Regions from separate parts of the Homo sapiens genome. Here region 2 is linked to region 1. Evidence: promoter capture Hi-C in human tissues and cell types (Jung and others, 2019). All regions are on one chromosome and are shown on one strand. Each heading gives the region's core, a stretch centred on a gene start or on the middle of the fragment in contact. The rest is flanking DNA. Distances are from core to core; before and after follow the strand shown.

The links. Contacts are between HindIII fragments. The study calls those that stand out against the background at their distance.
Region 2: a fragment that was not itself captured here is called in contact with the fragment with the promoter of CSMD1 in region 1 in 5 of the 25 tissues and cell types used here (H1 embryonic stem cells, aorta, dorsolateral prefrontal cortex and 2 more).

Annotation. Positions count from the first base shown.
Region 1 is chr8:4,993,357-4,998,152 of GRCh38, reverse strand. CSMD1 (CUB and Sushi multiple domains 1) reads left to right here and starts at 3,239. Exons shown (of 70, transcript NM_033225.6): 1 at 3,239-3,821. The coding sequence starts at 3,737. The HindIII fragment of the contact is 12,651 bases long and covers 889-4,796 here.
Region 2 is chr8:4,848,079-4,853,576 of GRCh38, reverse strand. The region is part of intron 1 of CSMD1 (CUB and Sushi multiple domains 1); the gene reads left to right. Among named protein-coding and RNA genes, the nearest start is that of CSMD1, 140 kb to the left of the region's middle. The HindIII fragment of the contact is 3,790 bases long and covers 1,631-5,420 here.

The DNA of each region.
Region 1 (4,796 bases), core at 1,990-4,489:
CTTAAGCTCTCTCACACTTTTGCTCACCCAAGGTAGACACTGCGCTGCTGGAAACATGGATTGTGTGGCTCGAATACTGACCCCTCTGTCAAGGAAACAAGTTTCCCCAATTCTTTAGTTGCCATCAGTTTTTTTTTATATGTGACATTAAACAAACCAAATAATGTCACATTTAGCCATCATGACAACACACCAAATTTTCTAAGATTTTCGCACATGTGCCGCTTTTCTAGCTAATTAGCATTCTCATCTGGGCATGTTTTAAAATTTTCTAATTTTATCTCAACTATCATGTTCATATTTTCTGCCCCCTCCTCAGATAATTCCATTTAAAATACACTCTCCCTCTTCAGTGGCTGCACTTTTCAGATGTTTATGTTGTCATCTCTCCAACCTTGTCTTAAATTAGTTGCTACCTGAATTTAGGTATGTCATTATCCCTTCCAGAACGTCAGCACCTCTTTGCCTTTAATCATCGCACTGCTCAACTCTCTGATCGGTCCCGAGTGCCAAGGGTATTTCTAGTGTTGCTTAGCCAGGTCCTGAGGCTGTGGAGAGTGTGAGGCCCAGGATGGGGAATGGAGTCAGTATACAAGTAGAGAAGTATGATGTTCCAGGCAGCACAGGCCCTGGCAGAGAAGTGGCCACAGAGCTTCCTGGTGTGACGTCCCTGGGCCCCCACACTCACTCTAACCACGTGTGGTTAATACTGCCCTAAGTAACATGTACTGGACTTCTGATATAGATTAAGGCTTTCGCAATCATTTACACATCAAAGTGTGTATGTATGTGTCGGGGGAGCTTGCAGTGTTCTAATAGGCTCAAGCTGGACCGCAAGGAGGGCACAAGAGTGTTCTGGAGGAGATTCAAAACGCAGGCAGGGAACCGCAGAGGAGGTCAGAGAAGTAAAACAGAGGGACCACTGATCTCTCTGCAAACGCCAAACAAGAAATATTGGACGCTAGATGGCAGCAGAGCCCCATGTTTTCCTTCCAAATTAAGCCAGCCTTGAGATCTTGGGCGAAAAATTCACTGTATAAACACACAAATACAACCATATCAGAAAACCAGCTTATTTTATTTGTCAGCCGTTTCATACCCTTCTCATAATCATGATCAATAAACAATTTGGTACGAATCATTGTAACTCTCTAATATACGATCGGGCCAAAGAAAATACCCCACATAAATAACAGCAAAAAAAATGAGTGGTTATTGGTTATCTGGACCATTATTTCTCAAGGCTTTGTATCAGATAGATTCTTTGCTCTCTGGGGAAAGGAGGTGGCATGGGACGTTTTTCAACAGAACACAGGAAAAGGGAAGTTCAGCCCGGAGCCTGTCACAATTATGTGGAAAGGTGTTCCATCTCTCAGGTGACACTCACCGTCGTTCCTGATTGGGATCCTAATCAAGTGAAAATCATCTATGAGTCCTAGCCTAGGATGGTTAGATGTTGGAAACGTTTTTTAATGGCAGAAATCCTTCTTGGTGACACGAGCCATTAGGAATGGCAGTGTAGAGACAGGGCACCGTTTCTCAAGAAGAAGTCAGCTCTTAAGCTCCTGAAAAGAGATCCGTTTTTCCGGATGAGGCGCTTGAAATGAACTATTGGAGCACTTAATGGGTCTTGGAAAGCATTTTTGTTCACTCGCTGACTCACAGATACTATCTGAGGTCTGATTTAAAATCCCAGAGGGGGCGACCCTCTGCTCCACAGGCCCGGTTCAGCCTGAAGAATAGAACTCAGGGGTTCTATGGGAATTCCCCCGTGACTGAGGCATTCTGTCTTCCGAGTGTCCCTCCAGGGATACATGAGGCAAGACGGGACTCTGCGCTGAGGAAAATCCAAGTCATGTTCAGGACTGCAACTCCAAGAGCACGCATTCTCTCCCTCCCCACCCACCCCATATTTAAATCTCATATATCTGCGAGGAGAAAAGGGTTGTGGAGGTGGCCCCAATTGTGGCCACCTGCACCTTAGGCTGCAGGGAGACTAAGAAAGTCAGGCTTCGGTGTTTCCATGCCAAGGTTGCAGTCCTTCCTGGATCCATTATGCCTTTCTAGGGTAGACTAGGTCACAGAGGCAGGAGCAATCTAAGAAAATTGAAGGAGGGATATAAAACTTTATCAAACTGTCAACCCATTTAATCTCAAAGACTGACAGAGGAAGTGCAGGTGGGATGAAGCGGTGGGCTGTCCCTCCCACCACAGGCATTCGGTGCTGTGGGGATACCGCAGGTAGATGGTTGTATACTCTAATGGTTCCAGGCCTGGAGGCTAATTCTCTCTTACTAGGGTATGGGATTTCCACGTTCTGTCCTCTGAAAGGGCTAAACCTTTTTGGTCAAGGATGTCGAATCCTTTAAATGTCCTTCTATGGAAACCAGCCCTCACTCGTGGTGTTTCTATTAACTGACCACCTTCTCCTAAAATGTCTCTCCTTACACGTTCCCCAGGAACTGCAGGAATGCCTCCTCTATTTGGGGAGCTGGGTGAAATCCAGTTTACTGTATCAAGTACTGCTATTCTAAAGCACTGTTCTCTCTCTGCGGGCTTCATCCTTTTGCAGAATCAGGGAGAACCTGTCTCTTCTCTTTTAAGGTCCCTTCCCAACCCACAGAATTTTATATATAGTTTCATCAGAAGCTGTGCCAACATGCCGGCTCTCACAACCAGACCATAATATTAATTCTAGAGACTTCCTCATGTCACGTTTTATCTGAAGCTGAAGTTTGGGCATGGCTAAATCTAACACAATCCAAAGTCAGGAAATGTGTAAATTTGTGTAACTCCTTGCAAATAGTCCATCTTGCAAAACATTATACATATCATCATATATATATATATATAAATGTATAAATATATTCCTCCCTTGGAGTTGAAGCTTGTGCCCTTTCCACCTGCATTTCTGATCTAAGTTAGGTAGGGGGCTGCTCTCTGGTCAGCAAGGAAGGGAGATCAAAGGATGGAGGCGGGACTCTGCCCCTGCAGAAACCCTCCAGTTTGCTGGAGTTGCCGGATTACATTGTTCCTCCCCGGTGTGCGGCGTGAGCTTCCCCCACCCGAGCGCCCAACAAGTCTCCTTTCTCCAGCCTGCGCGCTGCTGCGCTGAGGCCGAATGAAGCGCAGCACGGTGCGGGCAGCCCGAGGCCCCGAGGCTGGGCTCTGTCTGTCTGGGACTGCGCCGTGCCCAGCCTCGGTCCCCTCTCTGTGGGTAAGGATGGTTGAGTCCAGCCTCCACGGCAGCGGCTCCTTGTGCCACTAGCAGCCCTTCTTCTGCGCTCTCCGCCTTTTCTCTCTAGACTGGATCTCTCCTCCCCCCCGCGCCCCCCTCCCCGCATCTCCCACTCGCTGGCTCTCTCTCCAGCTGCCTCCTCTCCAGGTCTCTCCTGGCTGCGCGCGCTCCTCTCCCCGCTTCTCCCCCTCCCGCAGCCTCGCCGCCTTGGTGCCTTCCTGCCCGGCTCGGCCGGCGCTCGTCCCCGGCCCCGGCCCCGCCAGCCCGGGTCTCCGCGCTCGGAGCAGCTCAGCCCTGCAGTGGCTCGGGACCCGATGCTATGAGAGGGAAGCGAGCCGGGCGCCCAGACCTTCAGGAGGCGTCGGATGCGCGGCGGGTCTTGGGACCGGGCTCTCTCTCCGGCTCGCCTTGCCCTCGGGTGATTATTTGGCTCCGCTCATAGCCCTGCCTTCCTCGGAGGAGCCATCGGTGTCGCGTGCGTGTGGAGTATCTGCAGACATGACTGCGTGGAGGAGATTCCAGTCGCTGCTCCTGCTTCTCGGGCTGCTGGTGCTGTGCGCGAGGCTCCTCACTGCAGCGAAGGGTAAGACGGACTTGCTCCTGGCCGGGGAGGCGGTAGAGCCCTCGGAGGCCCCGTGTGCGGACGCGAGTGTGCGTTTTGGGGACCGCAGGGTACGGAGTGGCCGCCTCTGCCCGGCGCTGCTCCATCGCCGAAGCTCGGGGAACGCGATGCACGGGAGGGAGCTTCCATCGCGCTCTCCCCAGCCCTCCTGGGCCCCCGCCCCACCCCGCCATTCCTTCCCCCTCTCTTGGGCTCACAGGAGAGATCTCTTTTTCTCGGCAGTACAGGGTGTCAAGGAGAAAGGAACCCAATACGAGTTGGGCTGGAACTGTGCTCCGCCGGGGCGGTGTTGCCTCCTCCGAGACGTGGACTCCACGGGTCGGGGTGGCTGAGGGGCAGTTCCCAGGACTTTCTCCCCGGACCCGACGCGCCTGGGAAAGCGTCCCGGGTGAAGCCGGCCTGGAAAGTTCGGGCTCTCTACGGGGGTTTTGGTACCAATAGGCAAAGGTCTCCGCCGGCCCGGCCTCCTCGCACCCATACACCCCATTCCTCCTCTCCTCCTTCCCTCTCCAACGTCCTCAGCCGGCGAGGAGTAGCTGCCTCTAGAAGGTCGCCCCCGCTTTCCTCTCCCCCGGACTTCGCTCCTTGCAAGTTGTAAGGTGTTGGCAAGGTGCGTGAAACAGGCTAGGAGTTCTGGACCGGCTTCCAAGTCAGATACATTCACTGTGGGCGCACGGGTATCCTCCTTCTACGCTGGTCAGGGGAAGGAGTTTCTCTGGGTGGCTCCTGGGCTTGGGGCTCTGTGAGCTTGGTTTTCTCCCTGAATGAGTTGGGGAATGTTTTCTTCTAAGTAGCCTACAGGCTGCGACCTCAAGGCTGGCAATAGCTTGTGTACTTGTTTATTCTCCGGGAAAGAACATAAGCTCCCTTTTGAGACAGGGCGAGAAAGAGGGAGAGAGACAGAGAGAGAGAGAATACTGATTGGTTTTCACATTG
Region 2 (5,498 bases), core at 2,276-4,775, 140 kb after region 1:
CTCTACCTTTGTGGCAGCCTTCTGCCTGAGCACTCAGGCTTTCTGATACATCTTCTGAAATCTATGTGGAAGCTGCCAAGCCTCCTTTATTCTTGCATTCTGTGCACTAGCAGGCTTAATATCACACTGTGTTGAAGCTGCCAAGCTTATGGATTGCACCCTCTGAAGCAGCAATATGAGCTGTACCTGTGGCACTTTGAGCCATGGATAGAGCTGGAGCAGTGGGGATGCAGGGAACAGCCACCTTGCATTCCTGGCTTCAGAGCCCTGAGTCTCACCCATAAAATTGTTCTTTCTTTGTAGACCTCTGGGCCTGTCATGGGAAGGGCTGCCTCATAGATCTCTGAAATGCATTCCAGGGCTTTATCCCATTGTCTTGGCTAGCAGCACCTGGGTCCCTTTTAGTCATGCAAATCTCTCTAGAAAGTGTTTGCTCCATAGCCCACTTGGATTCTTCCACTAAAAACATGCTTTTCTTTTCTACCACATGGGTAGGCTGCAAATTTTCCAAATGTTTATGCTCTGCTTCCCTTTTAAATATAAGTACCAACTTTAAGTCATTTAATGTGCCTGCATCTGAGTGTAGACTGTTATAAGCAGCCAGGCCACATCATGAATGCATTGCTGCTTAGAAATTCCTTCTGCCATGTACCCTCTCATCATTCTTAAGCTCAACCTTCCACAGATTCCTAGGGCCTGAAAACAATGCAACCAAGTTCTTTGCTAGGGCCTAACATAGGTGACCTTCACTCCAGTTCCCAGTAAGTTCCTCATTTTCATCTAAGACCTCATCAGCCTGCCCATCACTGTCCACATTTCTATCAGCATTTTGGTTATAACCACTTAACCAGTTTCTAAGGATCTCCAAACTTTCCCTCATCTTCCTGTCGTCTTTTGAGTCCTCCAAACTCTTCCAATCTCTACCCATTACCTAGTTCCAAAGCCACTTCCATATTTTCAAGTATCTTTATAGCAACATCCCACTCCTGGTACCATTTTTCTGTATTAGGCTGTTTTTGAATTTCCATGTAGAAATACCCAAGGCTAGGTAACTTATAAATGAAAGAGGTTTAATTGGCTGACCTGTAGATGAGGCCTCAACTGGTGAGGCCTCATCAAGCATTCAATCATGTTGGAAGTGAAAGGGGCAGACAGTGCATCACATAGCAAGAGTGAGAACGAGAGAGAGAGGAGAGGAGCCACATACTTTTAAACAACCAGATGTTGCAAGAACTCTCTCACTGTTGCAAGGATAGCAGGAAGCCATCTATGAGGGATCAGCTCCCACAACCCCAGCACCTCCCACAAGGCCCCACCTCCAAAACTAGGGATTACATTTCAACCTGAGATTTGGAGGCAACAAATATCCAAACCATATAAGTATGTTTACTGTTATAGAACAATGCTGGCAAAAATAGATTAGAGTAAACAAACATATATGGTGTTCCCAGTTGGGAGAAAATAGCAGTTTCACAAGTAAAAGATATAAAGAGAGAGGGAATCTGATGTAAGGAAGTATACACATTAAGCCCTGCTGAGGAGGTATTACAGGTTAGACCTTAGTGACAGATCAAGCGTCCAGAGAGAGATTAAATCTATAGGGAAAAAACTTAGACTAGTGGTTTACTCAGCCTGTGTACAAGGCAGAGGGAGAATGAAGAGTGATAGCAAATGAGTATAAATTTTCTCTATGGGGTGTGAGAAATATTCTGAAATCTAATTTTAGTGATGGTGGCTTCACTCTGTAATTATCTTGGGAAACATTTAATCACACAAGTTAAAGGGGAGGGTGACTTAAAAGTACGTTCATCTCAATAGACCTGTCTTTGAAGAAGAAGAAGTCTTAAGGTTCTTGTTAGTCATATGGGTGATTGCCGATGCCACACAATGGGACTCTTAGTGAGGAGAGGGAGAGCAGGAGACATTGAGAAGTCAGGTAATCCCATAGATTATTATGAAACTCCCACATGGAGTTGGATAGGCTATTGAATGCCAACTGAAGATACAGGTCATAGGTTCTGAACCTATGGGGGTAGACTACCTCAACCCTGGAGAATGTATAGGGGAGTGAGAAGCGCCATGGATGAAATACTCAAATATCAAAAAAGAAAAAAAATAGAGGTTGACAAGGGAAGAATTTAAGAAATTGACGAAGAAGATGCAGCCAGGAAAAAAACAAAAAAGGAAAAGCAGGAATTGGTGGGATCATGAAAGCCAGTGAAAGAAGGAGCTTAAAAAGGGGGCGAGAAAAGTTGGCATGTATACACCATAGAATACTATGCAGTCATAAAAAATGATGAGTTCATGTCCTTTGTAGGGACATGGATGAAGCTGGAAACCATCATTCTCAGCAAACTATTGCCAAGGACAAAAATCCAAACACTGCATATTTTCACTCATAGGTGGGAATTGAATAATAACACATGGACACAGGAAGGGGAATATCACACTCCGGGGACTGTTGTGGGGTGTGGGGAGGGGGGAGGGATAACATTAGGAGATATACCTCATGCTAAATGATGTGTTAATGGGTGCAGCACACCAACATGGCACATGTATACATATGTAACTAACCTGCACTTTGTGCACATGTACCCTAAAACTCAAAGTGTATATATTAAAAAAAGGAAATTAACAAGGATAAAAAAATAACCACAAAAAGTGGGGGGGCAAGGGAAACAATCTTCAATGCATAAAGGTTCATGTGACATGAGGACTAAACATACTTTATTGAATTCAGCAAAAGGATGCCACTGGTTGAATTTTTGAGGGCAGTTTGGGTAAAATAATAGGCAAGCCACTAGGTTTGGGGTTGAAAGAAAATTGAGGTACTGGAACAATGAGTGCACACAACTGCTTCACGACACTCTGCACTTCATCCAGAGAGAGAGAGAGACAAAGCTAAGGGGGTAAGGAGCAAGGACTTTGTTCTGATGGAAGAGTCATAGAGAGAAAAGAAAGAGACTAAGTGATGAGGAAGAGAGGATGAAGGATTTCTACTTCGCTGAAGTCCTGGGAGAGAGTGCTGGGGGAGGAGTGGTGCAAAGGAGGGAAATGGAAGATTTTGGAAAATAACCAATGTTTGCAATTGTCATGTGACTGAAGGGAGAGGAAGCTTCCTGAGCAATCAATGAAAAAAGAGTAAAGATGTTTTTTACTAAAGGCAAGAGCAAAAAAAAAAAAAAAAAAAAAAAGATAAATTGGATTTCATCAAAATAAAAACATTTATTCTTCAAAGAGACCATTAAGACAGTAAAAACACAAGCCGTAGAATGGGAGAAAATGTTTGGGGATTGTGTATCTGATAAAGGATTTGCATCTAGAACATAGAAAGTACTCTTGGAGCTCAGTAATAAAATGACAGATAACCCAGTTAAAAAATAGGTTAATGATCTTCATATACATTTTACAAATACCAATATTCACATAAAGAGATTTTTGACGTTATTAGGCATCAGGGGAATGCAATCCAAAACCACCATGAGATCCTACTTCACACCCACCAGGATGGCAAGAATAAAAAAAGCCAAGTATAGTACGTACGTAACACAGATGTGGAGAAATTAGAACCCGCATGTCTGCTGCTGGTGGGAATGGAAAAAAGTTCAGCCACATTAGCAAAGAGTCTGGTAATTCCTGAAATGTTTAAACATAGCATCATAATATAATCGAGAAATGCCATTTCTAATATACCCATGAGCAATGAAAACATATACAGTTACATGTTACATAACAATGAGGAAATATTCTGAGAAATGCTTTGTTAGGCAATTTCATCAATGTATGAACATCATTGAGTGCACTTACTAAAACCAAGATGGTTTAGCTTCCTAGAGACCTAGGATGTATGGTATAGCCTGTTGCCCCTAAGCTTCAAATCTGTACAGCATGTTACTGCACTAAATAATATGGACAACTATAATACAATATCAAGTATTTGTGTATTAGAGCATTTTTAAAAATAGAAAAGGTCACTAAAATTATGGTATAAAAGATGAAAAATGCTACACCTGTATAGAGTACTTGTCATAAATGGAGTTTGCAACCTGGAAGTAGCTCTGTAGGAGTCGGTGAGTGAGTTATAATTGAACGTGAGATCTAGGAGATTACTGTTCACTATTGTGGACTTTACAACCGTTGTACACTGAGGGTATAGCAAACTTACAAAAAGTATTTTTTTCTTTATTCTATTGAATAAAGAAAAAAATTAACTTCAGTTTATTAAATTAACTTCACCTTATTACTTTTTTCTTTATAAACTTTTAATTTTTTAAACATGTGACTCTTTTGTAATAACACATTAAAATATGAAACACATGCACAGGTGTACAATAATATTTTCTTTCTTTATAGCTTTATTCTACAAGCTTTTTTCTAGCTTGAAATTTTGTTTTATTTTACTTTTTGAAAACGTTTTTGTTAAAAGCTAAGACACAAACGCACATTAGCCTAGACTTACACAAGGTCAGAATCATACATATCACTGTCTTCTACCACCAAATTTTGTCCCACTAGAAGGTCTTCAGGGACTATAACAGGTGTAGAGCTGTCATCTCCTAGGATGACAACGCTTTATTCTCCAATACTTCCTGAAGGACCTGCCTGAGGCTGTTTTACAGTTAATACTTTTATAAGTAGAACAAGTACCTTCTAAAGCAACAATAAAAAGTACAATATAGTAAAACTATAAACCAGAAACATAGTTGTTTATTATTATTAAGTATTATGTACTGGGTTGGGCGCGTTGGCTCACGCCTGTAATCCCAGCACTTTGGAAGGCTGAGACGGCCGAATCACCTGAGGTCAGCAGTCTGAGACTAGCCTGGCCAGCATGGTGAAACCCAGTCCCTACTATAAAAATATACAAAAATTAGCTGGGTGTGGTGGTGGGTGCCTGTAATCCCAGCTACTCGAGAGGCAGAGCCAGGATAATTGCTTGAACCAAGAAGACGGAGGTTGTAGTGAGCCGACACGGTGCCACAGCACCGCAGGCCTGGGTGACAGAGTGAGACTCCGTCTCAAAAAAAAAAAAAAGCATTATGTACTATACATCATTTTATGTGCTAGACTTTTAATGACTGGCAGCACGATAGATTTGTTTGCACCAACATCACAACAAACCCATGAGTAATGCACTGCGTTACAATGTTGGAAGACCATAGGCCATTACTAGCTCATAGGAATTTTTCAGCTCCACTATAATCTTACGTGACCACCATTGTATAGGTGGCCCATCCTTGACCAAAAGGTGGTTATCCAGCACATGACTGTATTCACACAAAAACTGGTACAACAATGTTTATGTCAACATTATTCAAACTAGGAAAAAGTGGAAACACCCCAATAGTCTATCACTAGATGAAAGGATAGACAAACTGTGCCATTTCCATACAATGAAATATTATTCAGCCAGACCAAGAATGAAGTACTAATACATGCTGCAGCATGGATGAACCTTGACAATATCCAAAAAAAATAACACAGTTGCAAAACCATAC